Linked DNA regions of Homo sapiens: regions 2, 3, 4 and 5 are each linked to region 1. Evidence: promoter capture Hi-C in 16 types of primary human blood cells and fetal thymus (Javierre and others, 2016). All regions are on one chromosome and are shown on one strand. The core of a region is centred on a gene start or on the middle of the fragment in contact, and the rest is flanking DNA. Distances in the headings are between cores, read along the strand shown. Region 1 holds the start of WWC2-AS1 (WWC2 antisense RNA 1). Region 2 holds the start of LOC107986328 (a long non-coding RNA gene). Region 3 holds the start of LOC107986327 (a long non-coding RNA gene). Region 4 has its middle 87 kb from the start of WWC2-AS2. Region 5 has its middle 43 kb from the start of WWC2-AS2.

Region 1 (2,700 bases), core at 36-2,535:
AGGCTCTAACTTAATATATGGAAGTAAGTTTCTAACCCTTGTGAGAAGACCTTTATTAGTTTGTGACTAAACCAGGCGTGTGCTGCTTTTCTGATCTGTCCAATTTTAGAATTGTTATTACCAAAGTATATATTTGACAACAGGAAAAATATATTTTATCAGTTTGACAACAAATATTTATTGATCATCTGCTGTTTGCTTGGCATGGTTGTAGATGCTTGGGATACAGCTGGTGGGTTGCAGCTTACTTTCCCACGGAGGACAGACAGTGTACACGGAGAATTTCAGCTCCTGAAAAATACTCTGGTCTAAATAAAACAGAGCCGTGGCAGGGGCAGGGGGGCTAGAGAAGTCCTATTTGAAAAGATAACATTTCAGCTAGCATTGGAGGGACAGGGAGTCAACTGCGGGAGATCTGGGGAGAGCTTTCCAGGCAGAAGGAACTGCCAGGACATCTGAGGAACGGAGGGGTGGGCAGTGGCCCTTGGCACAGTGAATGAAGGAAAAACACACACTTTTATAGAGATGCCATGACTTGGAGTTCTTATTCTGCCCATTTTGGTTGGAGACAATGATGATGTCCAGCTCATAAGAATGTTGCTAAGTAAGGTAATGAAGGTAAATAGTAGTAATAATACACATCACTGATAGTTTTAAACATCATTAATATGCCTTCCACAGAATTTATGTGAAGGAGAAACTGATAAAGTAAATGTTACTTTAACTCATGGCTTTGTTTATGTGTTTGTTTACTAATTTATTATCTTTTAAAACTGTAGACTGTGTTGCTAATTATCTGCAAACATTAATGTTTATGTTGATTTCTCTTTAAAGGTTAAAAAGCTAAAGAGAGAGCTCTCACAGATGAAGCAGGAACTGCTCTATAAAGAACAAGGCTTTGAAACATTGCAGCAGTGAGTATGAAAAGACTGAATCAACTTTAGAATAAGCTCCCTAACTAGTATGAATACAAAGAAAATAGAAGTACAGATTACATAAGCGATTTCTTAAAGAAACGTAAAGTAAAAAAGTTCAGAGCTCTACACCAAAAGAAAATAAAGCAATCAACCAACAGATAAAAAAACTTGGGAAAGATCTATGCACTTGAAAAGATCCAAAGTTTTTATTAATCATTGGAGATCCAAAGAAACCAAAGTGAAAAGCCTTTGTCTTACCTTTATCTCCTGGACCCTTGCTGGCCTCCTCTGAGATTGTGGTACAGAGCTAAGAGACTAGGCACAAGAAATTCCTCTCCACATTCGGCTGGGCTGGCTGTACTTGACCCCTGTGTGAGCCTGCAGCTGCCCTGGGCCCTTGGGTGGAGGCGTGTCTGTCTCTCTCTCTCTCTCTGCCAGCCCCAGGGATGACCTAGAGTCTAACCCTGACAGATGGCAGGGGAGCAAGAGCAAGTTAGGATTATTAGCAAAGGAGCGGGAGTGCGCTCCTCACTTCCTGGTTCCTCTACCTTTCCCGTTTGCTACTGAAGTTGGCTGGGCCGTTAGCAGAGCCCTAAGCTGGGCCAGGTAAAGTGGAAATGGAGGTGACAGAGGGTCACAGGATGAGGATATCCCTTCCGCATTCCCGGCCCCTGAAAGCCACTGTTCTCCCTGCTGCTGAGGCCCAGCCTATCCAAACCGTGACAGGCACACCTGAGACTTTCTAATCCTGCAGTCTCCACTCCACAGGGCCTCTCATGGGAGAGAAGCAGTCCATGGTTTTCACAGCCACATGACCACGGAGAGGAGTTAAAACTTCCCTCCTGCTTGGTGCCTCCAAGTGCGGTGCAGTATTTTTAGGGATGTCCCTGGTCAGTTTTGTGTTCAGGCAGGTTTCGTGTTCTTCCCGGCATCTCCCGTGGTAGCACCTCAGGAATGCCAAGCTGGTCTCAGGCGCCACCTCTGTGGAAAGTACCCAGCTGTGTTCCTTTTCCCTGTGGAATCTTACTTTACCTTCTGCTCTTATTTGGGATGCTCCAAGCAGCAAGCCCCTTTAAAGATCCTGTGTGTCACTGGCCAGATAAACAAACTGGTTGTTCTTGTTTGGGTGATTAGTCATATCTTGGGATACGCAGGCACTGCTCTTGACCACCAGTCAGACGCATGACTTTAATTTCACACGTGCTGTTATCATCCAGACTCCTTTTTTCCTGCTTACCGCATAGAATCATGACCCTGATACTCCTTCAGATGCTCCCATCCTAGTGGTTCTCAAACCTGACTGCATATTAGAATAATCTGGAGAGTGCTTAGAAAAATAATGTTTCTAGTCTCTATGCCAGGTATATTTTATGAGATCCCAAGTGCTTCTCAAGTCCAGCCCTGTTGTAAGAACCTCAGCTGGTTGCAGAGCTCCCCGATAAACCAGGCAGAACTAGAATGACATAAATGCATTATTTAGTAATTGTTTATCAGCATAAAGCAGGGCTTCGTGGTGGGGGTGGGGAGAGAAAACAGAGTTTGAAGAGTGCCGTAACGTGTTTAGCCATATGTTCCACATTTTTAAGGCACATGAAATTATAACTCGCGTCACCATTTGGGATTAAAGGTTAGCCAAACTTGCTGTCTTTGTTATATTGATGTAACAATGCTGTATTGTTTCAAAGCAGTTTGCTTGCAAGCAATTTTTATAGGAATCTAAGGCATGTTTAAGAATCTGTCAATAACATTCCACAAGAAAACAATAGACATTTGTTGTAGAAAT
Region 2 (2,700 bases), core at 8-2,507, 200 kb before region 1:
ATAAGTAAATGGTGTAACTAGTAGAATCAAGTATATTAAAGGAAAATTATTAATATTTGACCTGTTTGATATCAACATTAACATCAGAGTAAAAAAAATAGCAATGTTCAACTTTCTTTCTCCTAGGAAACATTCCTAGGTGGTTGAGGAGGGTGACTTACGACTTCCTCTCAAAGATATCTAAACCAAGACGTCTTCAACTTTAGCCTGCATATGCATCACCTGGAAATCGAGGTGTAGGGTGGGCCCTGAGTTTGCCTTTCTAAGGAGAGATGCTAACAAGATCTGGACCATCAGCCACTCAAGACCTTTAACATGTTTCATACCTGTCGACACCCTGATACACCTTGGCCTCTGAAATACTTTACAAGCTTTGCTAAAGAACACGTTCATAATGTACCAGTTCTTTAGCACTGATTCCCTTAGGGAAATCTGTTCTTCAAGGCAAGTTTCCCATTGCAGTTCTCTATCAACCTGGCGGGGGAAGTTACTGCCAATCATTGACCAAGCAGCACAGATTGGGAGAACTCCGTACCTTGGCTCTATAAGCAACATCACTGTTCAGAGTGGTCATCCGAAGCATGCAGACTGGAGATACTATGAACTCTGATCACATAAATGAAGGATTCACTGTACTTTTGTAAGCAGACAGACAGGGTTTCCAGGGATTTTAGGAAATGAATAATCAACCTGAGGAAGCAGCCTGTTTTACAGCCTCTTGCCCTGCAGCCTGTGTGGAATGCAGTCGCCTTGCTGGTTGGAACCAGCAACTGACAGACCCCAGCAACTTATAGATGAACCCCAGTGAAGTTTCTTCATGCCATGCTAAAGCCCTCCTCCCCTAGAGGAGCTATAGCTTTATTATCATAACCTGTGACCCATCATGGCATGTAGAGGGGGGGTCTGGGCCACTGGGACCCCCCCCCCCATACACATGCCATGATGCACCTCTCCCTTCTCTATCACTCCATCAAACCCTCCTGTCACTTTCCCTTGGGAAGATACGGCTTTGGAGAACACTTCCCGTGTGTGTCTTACTTGTGCCAAGTAACACAATGCCTATTGATCAAAATCTGAGTTCTCCTGGAGAGTCGTTTGTTACTCACCAGGCAAATAAGCCCCAGTTTTTGGGAGGTAACATTATGAAATATTCTGAAGTAGTCCCATGAAAGATTTCTACTTTCCTTTTCAAATTATTGATAAATAAATGAGCTTGCTTTGGGCTATGGAGATAGTTTTACATGAATAAATCAATTCCTCTGAGCAGGGGCACCAGTGTGGAGATACAGGCTGACACACCAGCTCTCGCCTGTCCCTGGGTGGGAGGGGCTGGGCCGGTGCCTCCCCTGGATTGTTTCCTGTTTAGGCATTGCCAGAGGCGGGATGAGAAGAAAGGGCTGTGGGGATCTGAGGCTTGGAATTCCAAGATTGCTCCCAACTAAGCTGTGGTGCTTAGATGGACACCTGCACACCCCGTTATCCTCTGGCTGGTCCTACATGTTCAAGGACCCTTAAGGGGCTCTCCACAACAGACTTTCATCTCTTCTTCCGAATTGGCCTGCTCTCTGTTCAATTCCCTCAAGGCAGGGATGGATGACTGGCAAAGTTATCCAAGTGTTACGTGAGAGAAAGAGAACTATTTCTTTTGTCTGAGTCCTTTGTCTATCTTTTTCTTTTCAAGTATTCCCTGTCCTTCAAGAGCCAGGTGAATGCCACGTCCTCTTCAGAGCCTTCCTGGATGTCACAGCCGACCATTGCTGGGGCTCAGAAAAAGCTACCTGAACATATGGCGCTCTGGCCTGCAGAGTACTTTGAACTGGAGGAGATTGGAAGGCTTCAGCAATGGCCTCAGCACTAAGATCTCTCTGACCTTCTCTTGCCCTTGTGTCTCGCTCCTCTTTCTCCCCTAAGCACAGGGAGGGGCTGTCCCTGAACTTTCCTTGTCTCCTTAAAGATAGATCTAAAAAGGAACTCAGTTTCTCCTCCAGAGACAAGATTCACTGTATCATAGGAGAAGAGACTGGGGGTCCGGGCCACTCACAGACATCGCCATAGGCTATCGCCTGTTCGTCTTCCCCAAAAAGCACTTATTCTCCCCTAAGCAGCCTACATGCCCGATCCCCTCTTCTTTATGAAGAAGTAGATAAGCTTGTCAATTTCACTGGGTTTTGGGTACTCACTTTTGTTTCTCGTGCTGCTCCCATCCGTGTAATAAATGTGCATGTTTTTTTCTCCTGTTCATCTGCCTACTGTCCTGGAGTCAATTATGAAAACTCAGAGAGTAGAGAGAAAGTGTTTTCTGTCCCTATAGGAGGCAGCCGTTGCTCTCATGGCACTCATCACTGTCTGCCTGGCGTCATGCGTAAGTACCCGGTTGCCCCTAAAAGATTGCAAGCTCTGTGGGAGCGGAAACTGTGTCTCATTCATCTCCTGCAGGCACTCAGGAAGGAGGAAGAAATGGATGAAGCCTCTTATGTCCTAAGGCCTGCTAAGGTGCTTATGTAATCAAATTTTATCTTATCCTTATAATATGTGTTGCTTTACCTTTGATCACTGTAATGCCACTTATATAGCATGTTATAATTTATAAAGACATTTTCATATACTTTCTTTTTACCAACATTAATTTCCAACATCCTTCCATGCGTGTGATATTTTGGGGACAGTGTAGCTATCTGTTCTTTTGCCCCAAAATTACAA
Region 3 (2,700 bases), core at 148-2,647, 250 kb before region 1:
GAATTTGGAAGGGGTGATCAGGATTATAGCCTTATAAGAACTTGTATCTTTTTATTAGAAGGTAAAGTTAGTAATTAATTTTAGACTGTTAACCATGCATTTTAAGTAACTAAAGTTACTGCTAAAATAATAGACATCACAATATAACTTCTAAACTAATAGAGAAGGAAAAATAAATAATTCATAAAGAAGAAAAGAGGCTAGGCGCGGTGGCTCACACCTATAATCCCAGCACTTTGGGAGGCCGACGCAGGCGGATCACCTGAGGTCAGGAGTTCGAGACCAGACTGGCCAACAGGGTAAAACCCCATCTCTACTAAAAATACAAAAATTAGCTGGGTGTGGTGGTGGGCACCTGTAATCCCAGCTACTCGAGAGGCTGAGGCAAGAGAATCACTTGAATTCAGGAGGCAGAGGCTGCAGTGAGCCAAGATCGTGCCATTGCACAGCCTGGGTGACAGAGCAAGACTCTGTCTAAAAAAAAAAAAGAAGAAGAAAAGGAAAAAAGAAAGCACAACAAATAGAAAATATACAACAAGATGTAATAAATTAATCCAAATATAAATAGATAAAAAAATAGTTAAGTGAAACCTGCCAATTAAAAGACAAATATTATTAAACTGAAAAAAAATATGAAATCAAGATATTTATAAAAGACTTATCTAAAACATAAGGATACAGTAATTAAAAAAAAAAAGGGCTAAGCATAGTGGCTCATGCCGGTAGTCCCAGTGCTTTTAGAGGCTGAAGCGGAAGGATGATTTGAGACCAGGATTTTGAGAATAGCCTGGGCAACATAGTGAGACCCTATCTCTACCACAAAATTAAAAATAAAAAAATTAGCGAGGCATGGTGGTACATACCTGTAGTCCCAGCTGCTCAGGAGGCTGAGGCGAGAAGGTTGCTTGAGCCCAGGAGTTTGAGATTATAGTGAGCTATGACCGTGCCACTGCATTCCAGTCTGGGCAACAAAGCAAGACTCTGTCTATAAAAAAAATGTATTTTAATCAAAAAAGTGAATAAAGATATGCCAGGTAAATGTTAACCAAAACAATTCTGGGTAATATTAGACATATATTATACCTAATGATTAAGATTCTACTCATTAGGAAGATACAACATTTATACAACTAATAATATAGTTTCAAATAACATGAAGTAAAAAATTGACAGCTACAAGAGATATTAACAAATCCACAATCATAGTTGAAGTTTTTCTAACATTTGTTTTAGTAATTGGTAGAGACAGATTTTTTTAAGTCAGTAATAATGTTAAAAATTAGAATAGCACAATAGACAATCAGGATCTATGATTCGCTCTCTCTCTCTCTCTCAGAATATATATTCTTTTCAAGTATACATTTACCCATTTAGAGAAGTGACCACATGCTAGGCTTTAAGAAAACCTCAATAAATTCCAGCAGGTTGGCATTGTTCAGAACGTATTATTTAACCGCTAGACAATTACATTGGAAATCAATAGCAAAAAAGGTAGAAAATCCTCATACCTTTAGAGATACAAAACACACTTCTAAAGAATTTCACAGAAGCGAGAGACTCTAATGGAAACTATAAAATATTTAAAATAGAATAACAAACTAGTACATATTAAAAATATATGAGATATAATGGTATTAAGAGTGAGTTTTATAGCCTCAAATGCTTAAACTGGAAAAGACGTCTCAACTGTGTGACCTAAGCATCCAATTTATGGAGCAAGAAAAAAAACAGCTGAATAATTCCCCCAAAAGTAGAAGAAACAACAAAATAAACATAAAAGCAGAAATGCATAAAATAAAAAACATAGTTCCAAGATAGAGAATCAACAAAGCTAAAAATTTGGCCTTCGACAATACTAATAAAATAGACAACAGCAAGATTAATGAAACAAAAACAGAGAGACATATAAACTAATTAAGAATTAATATGCACATATCTCTAGAGGCTGGAGAGAAAACAGATTATAAGATATGAACAAATTTGGGACAATTCGTTTGAAAACCTAGAGGAGATGAATACATCGTATTATGAGCTGAACTGTGTTCCCTCCAAATCCATATGTTAAAGTCCTAACCACCTGTACCTAAGAATATGCCTGTATTTGGAGATAGTGTCTTTAAAGAGGCCATTAAGTATAAATGAGATCATTAGGGTGGGCCATAATCCAATAGGATTGGTGTCATAAGAGGAGATAAGGACACAGATACACCGAGGAAAGACTGAGTGAAGACACGGGGAGAAGGTGGCCAACTACAAGCCAAAGAGAGGGGCCTTGGGAGAAGCCAACCCTGCTGACACCTTGATCTTGGACTTCCAGCCTCCAGAACTGTGAGGAAACACATTTCTGTTGATTCAGCCATGCAGTCTGTGTCACTTTGTTATGGCAGTCCTAGCAAACTAATACACAAACTTAGAAAAAATCTCAATCATTAGCAAAACTAAATCTGTAATTTAAAAGTGTTGTGCAGCCAGGAGAGGTGGCTCATGCCTGTAATCCTAGCACTTTGGGAGGCTGAGGCAGGCGGATCATGAGGTAAGGAGTTCAAGACCAGTTGGGCCCAACATAGCAAAACCCTGTCTCTAGTAAAAATACAAAAATTAGCCAGGCATGGTGGTGGGCATCTGTAATCCCAGCTACTCAGGAGGCTGAGGCAGGAGAATCGCTTGAACCTGGAAGGCCGAGGTTACAGTGAGCCGAGA
Region 4 (2,783 bases), core at 172-2,671, 230 kb before region 1:
TCACTATTCTTTATTTAAGGTTCCATGGTAAGATTAGCAACAAAATAGAAAGCATTTTCTTTCTTTCTGAAGGTATAATAGACTCCCTCAGGTACATCACTCAAGAGAATTATGAAGTAAGTAAGCCTCTCAGATGAGATTTTAAAAGGTGACTAACTTTCTCTGGTCTGCCCACCATCTCCTTTCTATATACCCGAAAGTCAGGGTTTGTTTTTGAATTTAGCCCATTGATGGGGAAGGTGCAAGAATGAGAGTGCTTTGGAAAGTTTGTGATGGAAGCAGCAGGGCTTGGTGGCAGCCTAACTGGGGAAGAAAAAGAGTCTAAAATTCCTTCACATGATACGTTTCAAGAGACACTAATCTTCCATCAAGTACAAAATGTACTTTAATGCATACTGAAAACTAAGAAAGTCACAGTTATTTTAAATAAGTAAACAGACAAGATTAAATGACATTAAATATCAAAAGCTAATTTGAGTTTCTGGCATCAGAGCCAATGCTTCCTCCACACATGTGGGTAGTGGGTGATAGATATTCCTGACTTGGATTGTCACCAGCCTTCAGAGTTTGGGATGTCATCAGTCACCCATGGGAACAGTGAACGATGAGTCAGAGACTTCCGTGGAGAAAGTGCTCTTCTGGGAGGGAGTTCACTGCTATGTCCGCTTGCATATAATAGGGGCACAGTAAATGTTTATTGATATGTGGTTTTTCTTGCTTTAGAAAAAAGATAAACAGTCTACTAGTGTGTGTAGGCAGTGATATGTTAGGGTAACAGATAAAGTCTGAAAACTCAGTGACTTAGCGCCATGAAGGTTCATTTCCAGCACACACAAAGTCCATCGCGGTTCCAGTGACTGCAGCTGTGTCTTCCATGTCATTGAACCAGCTTGCTTATGACCACGGGCTTTACCCATTCAACGTGCAACTTCAGTCCAGAAATGAGGCTTATCCACTTCCCCTCTGCAGGGGCTGAGCCTGCAGGGGAGCCTGGGAAATATCTGCTGAGTATTCTGTCTCTATCACACATGGGTGGACTTCTGCACATCTACCTTTCAATACCAGATGATGGGTTCCTCTTGACTGTGCTTCCTATTGATTTGGGATGGATGGGAAAGGACTAACTAGAATTATTTATTAAAGGGCCAGAAAGCTATTTCCCTCCCAAATACATCAGCTTCTGAGCAAAAAAAAATTCAGCACGGTTGGCTATAGCAGTAGAACCACCAACTAGCAAAAGCACAGCTATTGTGTAGTCCACGCTATGTTAGCTACAATTTGAGTGATAAATTTTAAGCTTAAGAGGTCAATGAATATCGGTTGATATTAATGAATACTCATCAGCTGACAAAGTCAGCATCTTATTTACCCATGTCTTCTTCCTTCCTCAAAGTATTTCTGGAATAAAATGGGATTTAGTCTCCCATGACTCTGTTCCTTCTGGTAAAAGCCAGTACTCAAACCCAGGAGTTTATCCGAAACGTCCAGACATCTGGGACCACAAATAGTGAAAAATGGGACTGTCCCAATAAGCGCAGATGGCTAGTAAGCTTGTGGTACCATGGACTCATTTGCAGGTATGAGATCAGTCGTGATGGAGCCAAGTTATTTTCTTTTATGAACTTTTAATGTTTTTTGGCATACTTGAAAAGTGCAATAAAAATGAAAAAATATTCATCAATATTAGTGTATCTCTGTAGTCCTACTGTTGCATGGTAATATCATTAATTATGTATGGCTCCCACAGGGTAGTGTGTTTCAAGGGAGTGGAAATTGAATACAAAGTCTTTTATTCTTGTTTTCACTCCAACTCAAGTCATTAGTTCTCTCAGCAGATCTGCCCCCAACCCCAAGCCCCCAATCCTAATGCCCCCATCCTTGCCCACTCACAGCAACTTTCCGGCAAGCCAAAGCGCTATACCTTGAAGTGAATTCGTGGTTTTCCTCCAATTCTCAGCAAGCGAGCATTCCTATTTTGAGAACTGGCTTAGGCTAAGATAGCCACTCATTTCTCCAAGTGCCGTCAGCACAATTGTATTTTGTGTGTGGCATACACATTTACCTTCCGCCCTTGGAACAGTGTAATTGCTTGACATTTTGGCTGCCTAGACACATTTGTATCTCTGACCCCCCAGGTCCCATACCCAGAGCAGTGACAGGCTGGGACGGGTATCTGAGAGAAAACATCTTCCTCCTCCCTTGTGAGCCGCTCCTAACAGCTGCGCTCCGTTCCTGAGACCCTCCTTGCTTTTTCATCCTCCGCAGCCAAGAAACTGAATTGAATCCACTTGCAGGGCCATCCTCTCCTGAAGATGGCAGAATCTGAACAGCCAAGTGAAAGACAGGGGGGCCCCCACAAGCCCCTGTCCTACCCACGGATCCCGAAATAGAAGGAAATGCCCTAAGCTAGGAAGAAAAGCGCACCAAGAAAAGTGCATTCTGAGCCACACCTTCCATGTGGATAAAGTCAAGACTTGGGTTTCTGGAAGCGGAAATCTTGTCACTTTCCTTCATCATTCGTTTTTTCTTCCTCTTCCTCTTCCTCCTCTTCTTCCTCTTCCTCCTCTTCTTCCTCTTCCTCTTCCTCCTCTTCTTCCTCTTCCTCTTCTCTTCCTCTTCTCCTCCTTCTCCTCCTCCTTCTCCTCCTCCTCCTCCTCCTTCCCCCCTTCCCCTTCCCCTTCCCCTTCCCCTTCCCCTTCCCCTTCTCCTTCTTCTTCTTCTTCTTTTTTAGAGACAAAGTCTCACTCTGTCGCCCAGGCTGGAGTGCAGCGTAATCAGAGCTC
Region 5 (2,700 bases), core at 133-2,632, 180 kb before region 1:
TTTACAACAGAGCCAATCAAGGAAATCAAGACAGAGATTGTGGATATGAAAAAAAAAAAGCTGGAGAGTAAAGGGTTGCAAGATATGCATCTTGGAAAATAAAAACAAAATACACACACACAAAAAAAAACACAAAAAATGTGTTATGGTTTTTTTTTTTTTTTTTTTTTTTTGAGATGGCGTCTCACTCTGTCACCCAGGCTAGAGTGCAGTGGCATGACACGATCTCGGCTCACTGCAACCTTCGCCTCCCAGGTTTAAGCAATTCTCCTGCCTCAGCCTCCAGAGCTGAGATTACAGGTATGCACCACCATGCCCAGCTAATTTTTTTGTATTTTTCATAGAGATGGGGTTTCACCATGTTGGCCAGGCTGGTCTCAAACTCCTGACCTCAGGTGATCCGCCCACTTTGGCCTCTCCAAAAAAAGTTTTAAGATATTGATGTAGGAGAAATTCAAGAGTGAACAGACACCACCCTAGAGGAATCAACAGACAACGACGATGGAGTGAGTGCTTCCAAACCAGCGCCAGACAATGAGGCAGTGCCAGAAAACAAGTTGGCATTAGATGATCTGGCAGAAGGGTTTTGATTATTCAAGACTGCTTTTGACTTCTTTTACAACATAGACCCTTCCATGATATAGGCAATGACACTAAAACACATGATGGAAAAATGATTGGCATCATATGCAAATATTTTTAGAGAAACGAAAAAGCAAAAATGTCAGGCAGAAGTTACAATGCATTTCCATAAAATTACACCTACTGTGCCTGCCTCTCCTGCCTCCTCTTCCACCTCCTCCACCTCTTCCGTATCTGCCAACCCTGAGACAGCAAGACCAACCCCTCCTCTTTCTTCCTCTCAGCCTACTCAATGTGAAAATGAGAAGGATGAAGACCTTTATGGTGACCAACTTCCACTTAAAGACTAGTAAATATATTATCTTTTATGTTTAATTAACATGAATACATAACAGTTATACATATTTATGGGGTACATGTGATATTTTAAAACAAACAAGCAATGTGTAGTAATCAAATTAGGGTAATTAGAATATCCAAAACCTCAAATATTTATCATTTCTTTGTATTAGAAACATTATAATTCCACTGTTTTAGTCATTTTGAGATATACAATAAATTATTATTAACTATAGTCACCCTATTATGCTCCCAAATACTAGGTCTTATTCCTTCTATCTAACTGTATTTTTGTATCCATTAACTATTCCCTTTTTCTGTCCACCCTTCCCCTCCCGACCAACTACCCTTCCTAGCTTCTGGTAACCATCATTCTACTCTCTATTTCCATGAGTTTACTTTTTCTTCCAAACTCCCACAGATAAGTAAGAACATGAGATATTTGTTTTTCTGTGCCTCACTTTTTTTCACTTGACATAGTATCCTCTAGCTCCATCCATGTTGTTGCAAATGACAGGATTTCATTCTCTTTTGTGGCTGAATAATATTCCATTGTGTATATACCCCACATTTTCTTTATCCATTCATCCATTAGTGGGCACTTAGGTCGACTCCATGTCTTGTCTGTTGTGAATAGTGCTGCAATAAACCTGGGAGTACACATATCTCTTTGACATACTGATCTCCTTTCTTTTGAATATATACCTATCAGTGAGATTGCTAGATCACATGGTCATTCTATGTTTAGTTTTTTGAGGAACCTCCATACTGTTGTCCATAGTGGCTATACTAATTTACATTCCAACCAACAGTGTACAGGTGTTCCCCTTTCTCCACATCCTCTCCAGCATTTATTATTGCCTGTCTTTTGAATAAAAGCTATTTTAACTGGGGTGAGTTAATATCTTATTGTAGTTTTGATTTGCATTTCTCTGATGATTAGTGATATTAGACATTTTTTCATATACCTGTTGGCCATTTGCATGTCTTCCTTTGAGAAATGTCTAGTCAGATTGATTGCCCATTTTTAATTGGATTACTTGGGATTTTCTTCTATTGAGTTGTTTCAACTTTTTAAATATTCTGGTTAAGAATCCCTTGTCAGGCTGGGTGTGGTGGCTCACGCCTGTAATCCCAGCAATTTGGGAAGCCAAGGAGGGTGGATCATGAGGTCAAGAGATCGAGCCAACATGGTGAAACCCTGTCTCTACTAAAAATACAAAAAATTAGCTGGGCGTGGTGGCACGCACCTGTAGTCCCAGCTACTCAGGAGGCTGAGGCAGGAGGATTGCTTGAACCCGGGAGGCAGAGGTGGCAGTGAGCTGAGATCATGCCACTGCACTCCAGCCTGGTGACAAAGCAAGACTCTGTCTCAAAAAAAAAAAAAAAGTGTGTTATATTCAGGATTTTTGCTAAATGGGCAGATTATAGTTGTACTTGTCACCAGATGGGGCCAAGGATAGTGTGGGGCTGAGGAATGGGTAACTATGTGAGATGATGAATATGTTTATTAATTTTTTCCATCATAGTAACTATTTTACTATATATGTATTTTGTGGGTTTTTATTGTTGTTTTTTTGAGACAGAATCCCACTCTGTTGCCTAGGTTGGAGTGCAGTCACACAATCTCGGTTCACTGCAACCTCTGCCTCCTGGGTTCAAGGGATTCTCCTGCCTCAGCCTACCAGGTAGCTAGAACTACAAGCGCGCACCACCATGCCTGGCTAATTTTTGTATTTTTAGTAGAGATACGGTTTCACCATGTTGGCCAGGCTGGTC

The links. Contacts are between HindIII fragments. The CHiCAGO score rates a contact against its expected background, and 5 or more counts as called.
Region 2: a fragment that was not itself captured here is called in contact with the fragment with the promoter of WWC2-AS1 in region 1 in 1 of 17 cell types (megakaryocytes); the score reaches 6.3 in megakaryocytes.
Region 3: a fragment that was not itself captured here is called in contact with the fragment with the promoter of WWC2-AS1 in region 1 in 1 of 17 cell types (megakaryocytes); the score reaches 5.6 in megakaryocytes.
Region 4: a fragment that was not itself captured here is called in contact with the fragment with the promoter of WWC2-AS1 in region 1 in 2 of 17 cell types (megakaryocytes and erythroblasts); the score reaches 7.2 in megakaryocytes.
Region 5: a contact is called between a fragment that was not itself captured here and the fragment with the promoter of WWC2-AS1 in region 1, in 7 of 17 cell types (monocytes, naive CD4 T cells, fetal thymus and 4 more). The highest score is 6.1, in monocytes.

The regions. Positions count from the first base shown.
Region 1 is chr4:183,239,349-183,242,048 of GRCh38, forward strand. It overlaps WWC2-AS1 (WWC2 antisense RNA 1), which reads right to left and starts at 1,286. Exons shown (of 2, transcript NR_126473.1): 1 at 1,176-1,286. WWC2 (WW and C2 domain containing 2) reads left to right here. Exons shown (of 23, transcript NM_024949.6): 5 at 835-914. The HindIII fragment of the contact is 11,540 bases long and covers 1-2,700 here.
Region 2 is chr4:183,034,871-183,037,570 of GRCh38, forward strand. It overlaps LOC112268472 (a long non-coding RNA gene), which reads left to right. Exons shown (of 3, transcript XR_002959823.2): 3 at 127-734. LOC107986328 (a long non-coding RNA gene) reads right to left here and starts at 2,259. Exons shown (of 2, transcript XR_007058409.1): 1 at 2,181-2,259. The HindIII fragment of the contact is 1,777 bases long and covers 370-2,146 here.
Region 3 is chr4:182,985,133-182,987,832 of GRCh38, forward strand. LOC107986327 (a long non-coding RNA gene) reads right to left here and starts at 902. Exons shown (of 3, transcript XR_001741935.1): 1 at 864-902. The HindIII fragment of the contact is 4,736 bases long and covers 1-2,700 here.
Region 4 is chr4:183,010,757-183,013,539 of GRCh38, forward strand. No RefSeq gene overlaps it. Among named protein-coding and RNA genes, the nearest start is that of WWC2-AS2, 87 kb to the right of the region's middle. The HindIII fragment of the contact is 253 bases long and covers 1,296-1,548 here.
Region 5 is chr4:183,054,357-183,057,056 of GRCh38, forward strand. No RefSeq gene overlaps it. Among named protein-coding and RNA genes, the nearest start is that of WWC2-AS2, 43 kb to the right of the region's middle. The HindIII fragment of the contact is 8,021 bases long and covers 1-2,700 here.